Linked DNA regions of Homo sapiens: regions 1 and 3 are each linked to region 2. The links are contacts of gene promoters, found by promoter capture Hi-C in blood cells and fetal thymus (Javierre and others, 2016). All regions are on one chromosome and are shown on one strand. Each heading gives the region's core, a stretch centred on a gene start or on the middle of the fragment in contact. The rest is flanking DNA. Distances are from core to core; before and after follow the strand shown. Region 1 overlaps HIBADH (3-hydroxyisobutyrate dehydrogenase). Region 2 holds the start of EVX1 (even-skipped homeobox 1). Region 3 overlaps HIBADH (3-hydroxyisobutyrate dehydrogenase).

Region 1 (3,339 bases), core at 472-2,971, 310 kb after region 2:
CATGTGACTGTTTCCTTATTGAGCAGAAAAACACTCCTCTGGGAAGTAGTTTAAAAATTATTTTATTTTTGGTCTACTTCAAGGACTAAAACCTTGGAATAAAATTTTTACAGAATTCTGTATATGTGATAAAGGCAACCACTGCTTAATGGTGGTAATTTAAGTGGGGAGAACTGTTCTTCCGGTTTCATGAGAACCAATCACAGCAAAAGGAACATTTCTTGCTCTACTTTTTTTTTTTTTTTTTTTTTAAATAAAGACTAAGCCAAATACATAAACCTATTATGGATAATGGCCTTCTCCCTCCTCAGCCCTTAATACAACCCACCTCCTGACTACATACAACTTGTTTCAGTAGAACACTGAGTACAAAGACAAGACTCAACTTGTCAGTTCCAAGTCTAGAGTCAAAATTTCAACTATCTATCAGCTAATTCTTACTACTGGCCCTCAGAAGCACAATGAATTCAACATGTCCAAACACCTTTTGTCCCCCTACCCTCTCCTCAAATAGACCCCAAATTGGTCTCCTGCATGTCCATTCAGTTATGATGTTACCATTACCCACTTATGGCAGCATTTCCAAATTTACAGTGATATAAATGTATAGATATGTATTATTTATTTGGATCACTTGAAAGACAATTCAATACTATGTCAAGAAGTTCAGGCATATAAAAAAAGTACCCAGCCAGTCAAAATCTAGAGACATGATTCATGCAGTATTTGCCAAAGTAGAACAGAAACAAATCCTCGTAAAAATCATGTCTATCTTCTCAAGTCAAATATATATGCATGCAAGTGTGTGTCCTGAAAGCTTAACCTGTTAGGGTCACATGATCAAGGGTAGCCAACTGCATTTCTTTCCTTGCCCTTTCTCTTCAAGGGGCATACTAAATAAACACCTTCAAGTGTATTCTGAAAACAAAATTTAAAGATAGTCGTGAATTAGAGAATACAGAAAGGATTTTAACTTAATGCAAAAAACATTCCACTTTGATAAATTACAGTATTTGAAAAAACGTCCACCATAAGTTACTAATTCTAAGACTCAGTTTTCTCACTTGTTAATAATATCTGCTTCGACAGGACTGTGAAAGACTACATAAGCAATGCTTGATACACGATAGTCATTCTGTGTCCTCTAGAAAAGTCGAGTATCTTTTTACATAGTTCACTGGGTTTCCTCTTCAGTAAACTGCCTATCATGTTTCTTTACTTTTCTCCTGATTCTTGGTCTTTTTCTTGTTAATTATAGATTTTATGTCTACTCTGTTATATATTTTGCAAATAATTTCCCTCAGTCTGTTGTTGCCTTTTAACTTTTCTTTTTGTCACAAAGATGTGTGTGTGTTTTCAATTCTTGGATCTGTTAATTTTTTAATGGTTTTTTATTATTTGTCTTGCTTCAGAAGGTTTTCCTCATTCTAAGATTTTGAAAGAATTCTCTTAGACATTTCTTTGGCCTTCTTACACATTTTTTAAAACAATCAGTTATTTAATCCATCTGCTATTTATTTTCAGTGTATGGGGTGAAGTAGGGATCTGCTCCCCACAATGAATTGTCCTAACACAATTTATTAAAGAATTCATTTCCCCACTGATCTGATTGCCTTACTCAGATTCTAAGTACCTATACATACAAAGGTCTGTTTGGGGACTTAACTCTGTCTCCCAGTCTGTCTGTTCTTGAACAAATATGATGCTGTTTTAATCACTGTAACTTTATACTGTGTTCTGATATTTATGGAGTCCTAATTGTCTTATTAAAAAATTTTTTTGGGCAGGTGCCTATAATATTTGGGAGGCCAAGGCAGGAGGATAGAGGATAAAGGAGGATAGAAGAGGATAGAGCCTGAGCCCAGGAAACCTGCCTGTGCAACATGGTGAGACCCTGTCTTGACAAAAATTTTTAAAATTAGCTGAACATGGTAACACATGCCTGTGGTCCTAGCTACTCAGGAGGCTGAGGCAGGAGGATCACTTGAGCCTAGGAGGTTGAGGCTATAGCGAGGCATGTTCACACCACTGCACTCCAGCCTGAACAACAGAGTGAGACCCTGTCTAAAAAGGAAAAAAAAAAAAATTGGCATTTTTTATTTACTTATTCTCCCAGATGAGCTTAAGGTTTTTTTTTTAAGAAATAACACGGTTTTGCATTACAATTTATATATTATCTCAAGAGAATGGACATGTTTACATGCTTTTCCAAGCAGATAAGTGGTGTCTCCATTTATTCAGATCTTATTTTGCCTTTATAGTTTTGTCATCTTCCTCATATAGGTCTTACACATTTCTTGTTAAATTTGTTAAGTACTATTCTAGACCTCAGAACCAAGAATAATATTAAACTATATTATATAGTTACATATTGTCTTAGTCTGTTTTGTGCTCCTATCACAGAATATCACAGACTGGGAAATTTATAAAGAGCAGAAATGTATTTTTTCACAGTTTTGGAGGCTGGGAAGTCCAAGATCAAGGCACCAACAGGTTCAGTTGTCTGGTGAGGGCTGCTCTCTGTTTCCAAGATGGCAGCTTGTTGCTGTATCCCCTCCAGAGGGGAGGAACATTGTGTCTTCACATGGCAGAAGACAGAAGGGCAAGCAGAACAAAATCCCTCCATTAAGCTTCTTATAAGGGGGCCTAATCCCATTCAGGAAAGGAGGAACCCTCATGACCTAATCACCTCTTAAAGACCCCACCTCTTAATATCTTTACATTGGCCAGTAAGTATTAACACCTGAATTTTGGAGAGGACACATTCAAACCGTAGCACAATATACAAGAACTAAGTATTACTTGAAGACTACATAAGATTTGTCTTTTAAAACCATCTTTACTTTGTTCCTTCTTAGTAATGGCTGTCTGAATATCTCTGGTCGTTGGAAGTTTACTCATGTGTTTACCTCTTCTTGAATCAATTTTGGTAACATTTTTTTCTAGAAAATCACCTATTTCTTCTGGACTTTCCATTTTTCTGCCCACAAACTTATAATTCCTTATTTCATCCATATCTGTGTGCAATCTCTTATCTTATTCTTGATGCTTATGGTTTCTATTTTTCTTGGTGAAACTTCTTAAAGATTTGTCTTCTGAAAGACCAGTTCTTGGTTTTATTCAATGACTCTATTTTTCTTGTTGTTAACTAATTTCCTAATTAATTCCAATTACCACATTTGTCACATTTCTCTTCTTATTTAAATAGATTTATATTTGTTTTATTCTAGTTTATTGAGTTTTAGAGGATCTGCTTATTTTCCATTTTTTGGGGGGACAGGGTCTCGCTCGGTCACCCTGGCTGGAGTGTGGTGGTACAATCTCGACTCACTGCAACCT
Region 2 (3,803 bases), core at 601-3,100:
TACCTTCCGGATCCCGCTGCCTCCGCCCCCAGGCAAGATTAATGAACATCGTCTTAGACTGAAAGAGAAGTGGAAAGCCGGAGTGAAGAGGAAACTTTGTCTTTCTTTGGACCCCTTACTTCCTCTACCTTCCTTAACCCTATGGATAGGAAGATGGAGGAGAGAAGCAAAGAAGGAGAAGAATACAGAAAGAGAAAAAGGAGGAGAGAAAAGTAGGAGATAACAGATAAAAAGGTCACGGAAGAGGACTTACCTGTAAAAGCTGGGGCTTTGCTAGGGACACAGAAAGGAGGGAGGTGCTGGGCTGCCCTTTGCAGCTGGCTGCCTAGGGCTAGAAGCTCTTCGGGAGGAGGCGGAGAAAGGGGGGTTGAGCATAGAAGGTGCCCACCTCCTGCTCTCAGCAATGTGGGGATAGACTCAGCCCACCCACCTGGCCCCAGCACACTTGCTTGGAGCTCAAAAAGGGTCAGTTTGAAGGAGTTTTATACCAGCTTCTTCCCTGGGAGAGGAGCCAAGAGAGGCCTATGGCAGCTTCCAGATATTAAGTTCCACAACCCCTGCCCCCACCTCCAGCCCTTCATCAGAGTCCCTACTTACTTGCTGTTTTAGGGCATTTTCAGCGACTTCACTCTCTTCTACCTCAAACGCCATCCACTTTTGGAGACAGGTACCACTGCCCCTAGGCAGGGACTTGGGAGAGGACCTTATGAGTCAAACCTCTATGAACCCCAACCTTTTTGTACTCGGGGAGGCTGAACCCCTGCCCAAAATAGCGCGGTGAAAGCTACTGCCTTCTCCCAAGTAGGGGCCTCCAGTACTGCCACAGCAGGGGCCGCATTCCTGGCGCCTCTTCATTCGAAAAACCTCTTTCCAGGAGACTTCGCTGATTCTGAACGAATACTTTAAAATATGGGCAAGGGAAAAAAAAAGACAACTCTTAGAAACTCTCCCCACCCAACATACCTGGAGTGCAGGCGAGGTCCAGGCAAACGGGAAAGCGACTTCTTGTACGAATAGCCATCTCAAGATGAAGCCAGGCTGTGGAAAACTTAAGGCCATCTAGATGGGAAGGAGGTATTTAAAAGAAATCAGCACACACTCTTACAGAAGCCAAGGCGGGTCTTTAAATTAAAAAATAATAATAAGGTATTTATTTCTTGCCCCTTAGGGAAGAAAAATAGCAAAGTTTGGTTCGCAGGAGTAAGGAGACAGAGGTGGGTAGGGAGAGGGAGGAGAAAAGAGGAAAAGATGGCCCAGCCTCAAGCTCTCCAGTCAACTTGGGGCGGGGGAATACATTTTTCCGTAGCTTGTAAAAAGACTTTTCAGCCAGTTTGAGGTTAGCTGCCAGGGGCAGACAGTTGTAATAATGCCGACAGAATTGAGGCTTGTAAGCCGGGCTTCACACTTCTAAAATGCAGTTATGGATTCTTTCATCGGTGTTAGATCAAGGCACCAAGTTAAGAAAACAAAAGTCAAAACAACAATAAAAGAAAAAATCAAAAGCTTATTTAATTACCGAGTCCCGCTGCCCCTGCGGAACTCGCCGCGCGCGTTAAGCTCTCTTTTCTTTCTGCGGAATTCCATTTGCATCCCCTCTGCCTGGGTGTCTCCCTCTCTCAGTGTGTGTGTCTCTCTGTCTGTTTTCACACTCTCCTCCCCAATCGAGCGAGGCCCACACCTGGCGCATCACTGCCGAGCCATTAGCTGCGGGTTTCCTTTCATCTTCGCTGTGGCAGACGTTTCTATTTATCCACTTGCGCTCGCCGAGTGGCGTCACCAGCGGTACTGTAATGACGATTGCAGCAGGAGGATGACAGCTTAGAAAGAAGAGGGCAATGGGGCTTCCTCCCAGAGGCGGTGCGGCACAGAGGAGCGCTCGCTTCACAAGGTGACCCTAGCTCCCACCGCCACCGCCGCGGTCGCGGTCCAGACCGCGCTCCAGCAGCTCCGCGCCCTCCCAGGCACCCGGCCTTTCTTTCTCCCTCTTGCAACCAAGATCCGTCCGGCCGCTGGAGACCCAGGGAGCCGGGGTTAGGAACTCACTTGGGGCTTTCCCCTCCCCCACCGGAGAGCCCCGGGATGGAGAGCCGAAAGGACATGGTTGTGTTTCTGGATGGGGGTCAGCTTGGCACTCTGGTTGGCAAGAGAGTCTCAAATTTGTCCGAAGCCGTGGGCAGCCCGCTGCCGGAGCCGCCCGAGAAAATGGTGCCCCGTGGTTGCCTGAGCCCTCGGGCCGTCCCTCCGGCCACCCGGGAGCGCGGCGGGGGAGGCCCGGAGGAGGAGCCGGTAGATGGACTCGCAGGCAGCGCGGCGGGGCCGGGCGCCGAGCCCCAGGTAGCTGGGGCGGCCATGCTCGGCCCAGGACCCCCGGCCCCCTCAGTCGACAGCCTCTCCGGACAGGGGCAACCCAGTAGCTCGGACACCGAGTCGGATTTCTATGAAGAAATCGAGGTGAGCTGCACCCCGGACTGCGCCACCGGGAACGCCGAGTACCAGCACAGCAAAGGTAGCCACCGTGCCCCTCCGCTCCCCGGGCCTCCCACTGCGCCCACCCTTCACTTCGGCGCAGGCCAGGAGGAAGACACTCCCTTCCCCTAGGGCAGGATGGCTGGGGGGACCCACCTGAGCAACTCTCTCTGCTATCTGCGTTCTGGCGGGGGTCTCCTACTGTGTTCTGGCATTGGCGGGACTGAGGGTGACAGCAGTGCCTTGAGTGCGGGGTGCTGAGGGGGCGGATGCAAGTCCTGGACTTGGGGGATTCGAAGCTCACCCCAAGCACCCAGTGTTTCAACTGCTCGGGGAATGCTTCAATTGCTCGGGGAAGACACTTTCCCCAGGCGAGGGCAAGATCAAACGCCGATCCGGGCAGTTTGTGGCTGGCAGGGTGTAAGAGGCATGGAGGCGCGGAAGCCAGGAGTCCATAAAGGACCGTAAAATTGCGGCCCACTTGGGCAGCCCGGGTGCTGCAGCCCTCCGACCAGTTTGCACGTCGGTCAGAGGTCCAAATTACCTTGTCACTTCCCGGGCTTCGCGGCGCCAGGTCGGAAATGGTCCCAATGGTCTAATTGCCTTTGGTCTCCGGTTGCATTTGAAAAGGCAGAGATCGGGTCCTCCCCCCTTCCCCTTTCCTTCCTAGTCCCACTTCTCCACCCAAAGGAAAAGGAGCTGCAGGGGGCTGGAGCCCCACCCTTCTCAGAGGTAGGCCCAAAGGGGGGCTGGTTTAACTGGAGAACCCCTCCCCACCAAAGGCTAATGGGAAAGGGGTGGATAGCCCGGAAGGGAGTTTCCCTCTGTGCCAACAATCACCTCCCCAGAAGGGGGTAGAAAACTGGGCGCGGGTTGGTGGGGGGGAGGAGAGGGGAGCCCACCAGCAGACACTCCTCCACAGAACTGTAGGAGTGGGTGGAAAGAGCCTGGGGGCGGGGGGGAGAAAGACCACCCCCTGGTCTTGGCAGCCAACGCCTTGTTGAATACCTGCACCTACCCCTTACTATCTTATCACCGATTTCACCCAGCCTCCTTCCCATAACCCTCAGAACAACCTGGACTCCACTCACATATACTAAGGTAATAAATAAGATACTCAACATGCATTCTCACTCCAGCCCTGCAATACACGGAACCTAGTACACATTCCCACACCTGTTCTGGCAGCCCGTCACACATAAGAGCAAGGAAACTCTCTGAATGCCCAGCATACTACAATGCACTTGACCCAGAGTTTACAACCCTCTAGCACAAAGGTGCATCTCAACTCATGTGCCTGTCAGAAGTGCACGCCCTGCCAACGGGAGGCAGAAATC
Region 3 (3,292 bases), core at 388-2,887, 360 kb after region 2:
AACTGGGTAATGTTGGAAAATAAAAATTTAAAAATTTAAGGTAAAGGGGAAAATACGTAAAGCTGTCCTGTGTACTCATATTATGATTAATAACTAAATAAGGTATTCTGGCTTTTTAATAATCCAATTGCTAAAAGACCTATGAAGGATATTATGTTAGAAGGTTAAAAATTCTGGTTTTCACTTGTTTATACATGTTTGCCCTTTTTGTTCCTTTAGTTAACTAGATTAAAGCACTTAAAACCAAAAATAAAATTACTTTAGATTACCTATGTGAACTTTTTTTGGTTAGCTAATAATTCTTTCTATATTTTGATTGTGGGTATTGTGTGGGAGTGGGGTCATTGAATGGTGTGATATCGATAGAACAAGAAAAAGTATTTTTCTCTATTTTGTTTTTAAATGAAACAAACCAAAGCCTTTTAGTTATTCTAGCAACCCAAAGAAACTCCAAACTTGAATGTATTAGTCTCCTGCAATAATATTGAAAATCCTCTACCTAAAATGTCTTATTTTTGCTAAATCAGGCTAATTCTTAAAATTGCATATTGTCCTATTGTGCCTTCCTGAGACTCAACTTCCTCACTGAAAAAAAAAAAAAGAGGATAATCTGCATTTCATGGGGATGCTATAAGGATGAAATGTTTTAAAATACAGAAACAACCCAGTGTGATAAACTGACACACAAAAGGTACTTAATTAATCAGTTGACTTCTAGAAAATTCTGCACTATAAAACTTTAAGGTGATTAGAGATGTTTTGAATCTACTTATTGATAAGGCTGTGTGCATTTTCACACTTTCCACTCCGTTAAGACTATCAGATTTTATTCCAAGAAAGAGTGCAGGGAAGAAAAAGCAGCAGGCAAAAACTGAAACAGAAAAACAACATGGATGTTGTAGCTCTTACTTTCATTCTCTTATTTTTAAAAATAAACTTGACTTTTCATCCCTCTTGTTACCTATTTTTCAAAGAAATACAAGTTTCCTTAGTCTTTTAGTTTTTAGAAGCCATGTTTAGAGCTAAGCTGATATACTATGCCAAAAGTACACTTAAAACTGGGTATCTTCATTGCTGAACGTTTTACATTACAAGGCGTCAGTCTTTAAAAAAAATTTTTTTAAACCTGAAGATTACTGACAAATAAGCATTCTCTAACAATTATGAATTATTTCACATCATTTTAAGGTTTCACTTGATCAATTTTACATGCAAACGTACTTTCTCATTATTTACTCTTTCCTACTATGTTTCGCATGCCAAAAAAAATCCACTAATAGATTATAAACTCTGCTTGCCAGTTCCCTTCTCAACAACCTCCATCCATCCCAGCACCCACCCATTCCCAAAGAGATACCCAGCATTGTTTATGTGGAGTTGGAAACAATACACTCCCCACTGCTGGTTAATTTACATCAGATACAGCCAGGCCCAGGAAGCAAAGTGCCTGTCGTTTTCACCCCTTTTTTCTTCTCCCTTGCTTGCTCATGCCCCCTCACCCCTTTTAATTTAAATTACTCGTTTTAACTTAAAAACTTCTGGATGTTTTATTACCTTGGCAGCTTTTTCTCTGGATTGACTAAAAAGGTAAGTTTAAACAGTTTTTGTCAGTTAATATCTCTTCTTTTTTTTATATTTGTATCTGACAACCAGAATCCATAGTGTTAAAACTGCAATGATGATGCTGCTGCATTTTACCAGGCTAACTCAGGTTGGGCACAATTTCATTGTTTTTTTGTAACCTAAACATACAAAAAACAAAAATGTTACTTTGCATGCAGTTAAATTGGTTGTTCTCTAATCATCTCTATCTCTACAATCTTTATGTGCTCCTAAGGGATATAAAAAGATTTTATGTTAGGTTTTGTTGTTTTCATTCTTTATTTTTTTAACCATAAAATATTACACATGCAGATACAGTAAGTCATTGTTTCCTTGCCTATATATTTATAGAAAATTACTAAAAATCTAGTATTAAAAATACTATAAAGCCAAAATGCCAGCTTTTCTTTGAAAGCCACATTAACTGTGTCCTAATCAGTTTTTCTAAATTTCAGATATTTAAAAAGAATTAAATATAACATCTTTAATAACATGTATAAAGCCATTTCAAAGACTGAAATCCTAACTCTCAAATTTCACTAAATTAAATTTTATCTAAAACCAAGTAAGTTAAACATATTCCACTGTACATTAAAAATAAGATATGCAAAGACTCCCCAGTGTGTGCAAATGATACCAATAATTAAGAATCACATTTCGAGCTTTAAAACACTTCTATCTAAAAGAATCCAAAAGTGTGAGTAAATTGCTTTGACTGCTAACATTTACTTTCTGTAGTACTTTCTCTCCCCTTTTCATCCTAGCTCTCACCCCCACACCAACACACATACATAAAATAGATCATTTAGGCCAGTGGTATTTCAGTACATCGCCCCTCCTCCTCCACTTAGACAGTATTGCCTTTTATATCTATGTGGAGGTTCCCATGGCAACACTCACTTACACCAATACTATTTCCAACTGAAATGAGAGAATCCAAAATCTAAATGCTTCATTACTAAATAACATATACCCTAACAAGTAAGAATTGTTTTTCTCATTATCATTATTTTTCAATGTTTTTAGATTTCTGGAATTTCAGCAAAAAAATCATTTTAATATTATAGAAATAACTAGAAAAACAGTCATTGTAGGCAACTATATGTATGCATATCATTACATGAGATTTGTATGTGCTTACTCTTACTGCATAAAATTGATATGCTGAGCCAAGAAACCTCAATTATAATTATGAATAGTAAGTATAATTTTTACTAGTCCAGTTTACTCTATCAAATTTGATTTTTTTTTTTTTAATGTTGGCTACATAGCTCACAAAAGACCCTGGTGAGAAATTCTAACACAACAAGCCAAGAAGCAATTCATGGACAGCAGGAGGCAATTCCAGAACACAGGCATAATCTATAAAGAGAAACCTCTACAGCTTTTTGATGTTAAATAAGTAGAAATATTAGCATACAACAAAGCTAAGAAGCAGACTGTTGCATCAAGTTTAAAAGTAAAAATTTCAGGGTCAAATGTCATGAGTACCTTTGTCTAGACTACTTTCAAAAGTGAAATTTCCTAATTTTTAAAACCAAAAGGTCTCTTTTGGTAATACTGAAGGGTGCATATATTTAGTTTTAGTACAACACACATTCTCATCAAGTTATTCAAAATATAAGGGAGGGGAGGGTTTTGCTTTTAAGTGGGAACATCAAGGTGGGAGGTCAAACATTTACTTTGAAAA

What was found. The method cuts DNA at HindIII sites, captures the fragments that hold promoters and counts their contacts. A CHiCAGO score of 5 or more calls a contact.
Region 1: a fragment that was not itself captured here is called in contact with the fragment with the promoter of EVX1 in region 2 in 1 of 17 cell types (M2 macrophages); the score reaches 5.7 in M2 macrophages.
Region 3: a contact is called between a fragment that was not itself captured here and the fragment with the promoter of EVX1 in region 2, in 1 of 17 cell types (M2 macrophages). The highest score is 6.1, in M2 macrophages.

What each region holds. Positions count from the first base shown.
Region 1 is chr7:27,555,073-27,558,411 of GRCh38, forward strand. The region is part of intron 4 of HIBADH (3-hydroxyisobutyrate dehydrogenase); the gene reads right to left. Among named protein-coding and RNA genes, the nearest start is that of TSL, 59 kb to the right of the region's middle. The HindIII fragment of the contact is 1,813 bases long and covers 816-2,628 here.
Region 2 is chr7:27,240,952-27,244,754 of GRCh38, forward strand. It overlaps EVX1 (even-skipped homeobox 1), which reads left to right and starts at 1,851. Exons shown (of 3, transcript NM_001989.5): 1 at 1,851-2,506. The coding sequence starts at 2,080. It overlaps EVX1-AS (EVX1 antisense RNA), which reads right to left. Exons shown (of 4, transcript NR_120507.1): 2 at 964-1,059; 3 at 598-690; 4 at 478-499. RefSeq lists an enhancer at 1,469-2,346. The HindIII fragment of the contact is 5,233 bases long and covers 1,502-3,803 here.
Region 3 is chr7:27,601,584-27,604,875 of GRCh38, forward strand. All of the region lies in intron 4 of HIBADH (3-hydroxyisobutyrate dehydrogenase), which reads right to left. It overlaps LOC107986699 (a long non-coding RNA gene), which reads right to left. Exons shown (of 2, transcript XR_001744911.2): 2 at 811-3,292. Among named protein-coding and RNA genes, the nearest start is that of TSL, 13 kb to the right of the region's middle. RefSeq lists an enhancer at 1,054-1,814. The HindIII fragment of the contact is 3,461 bases long and covers 1-3,292 here.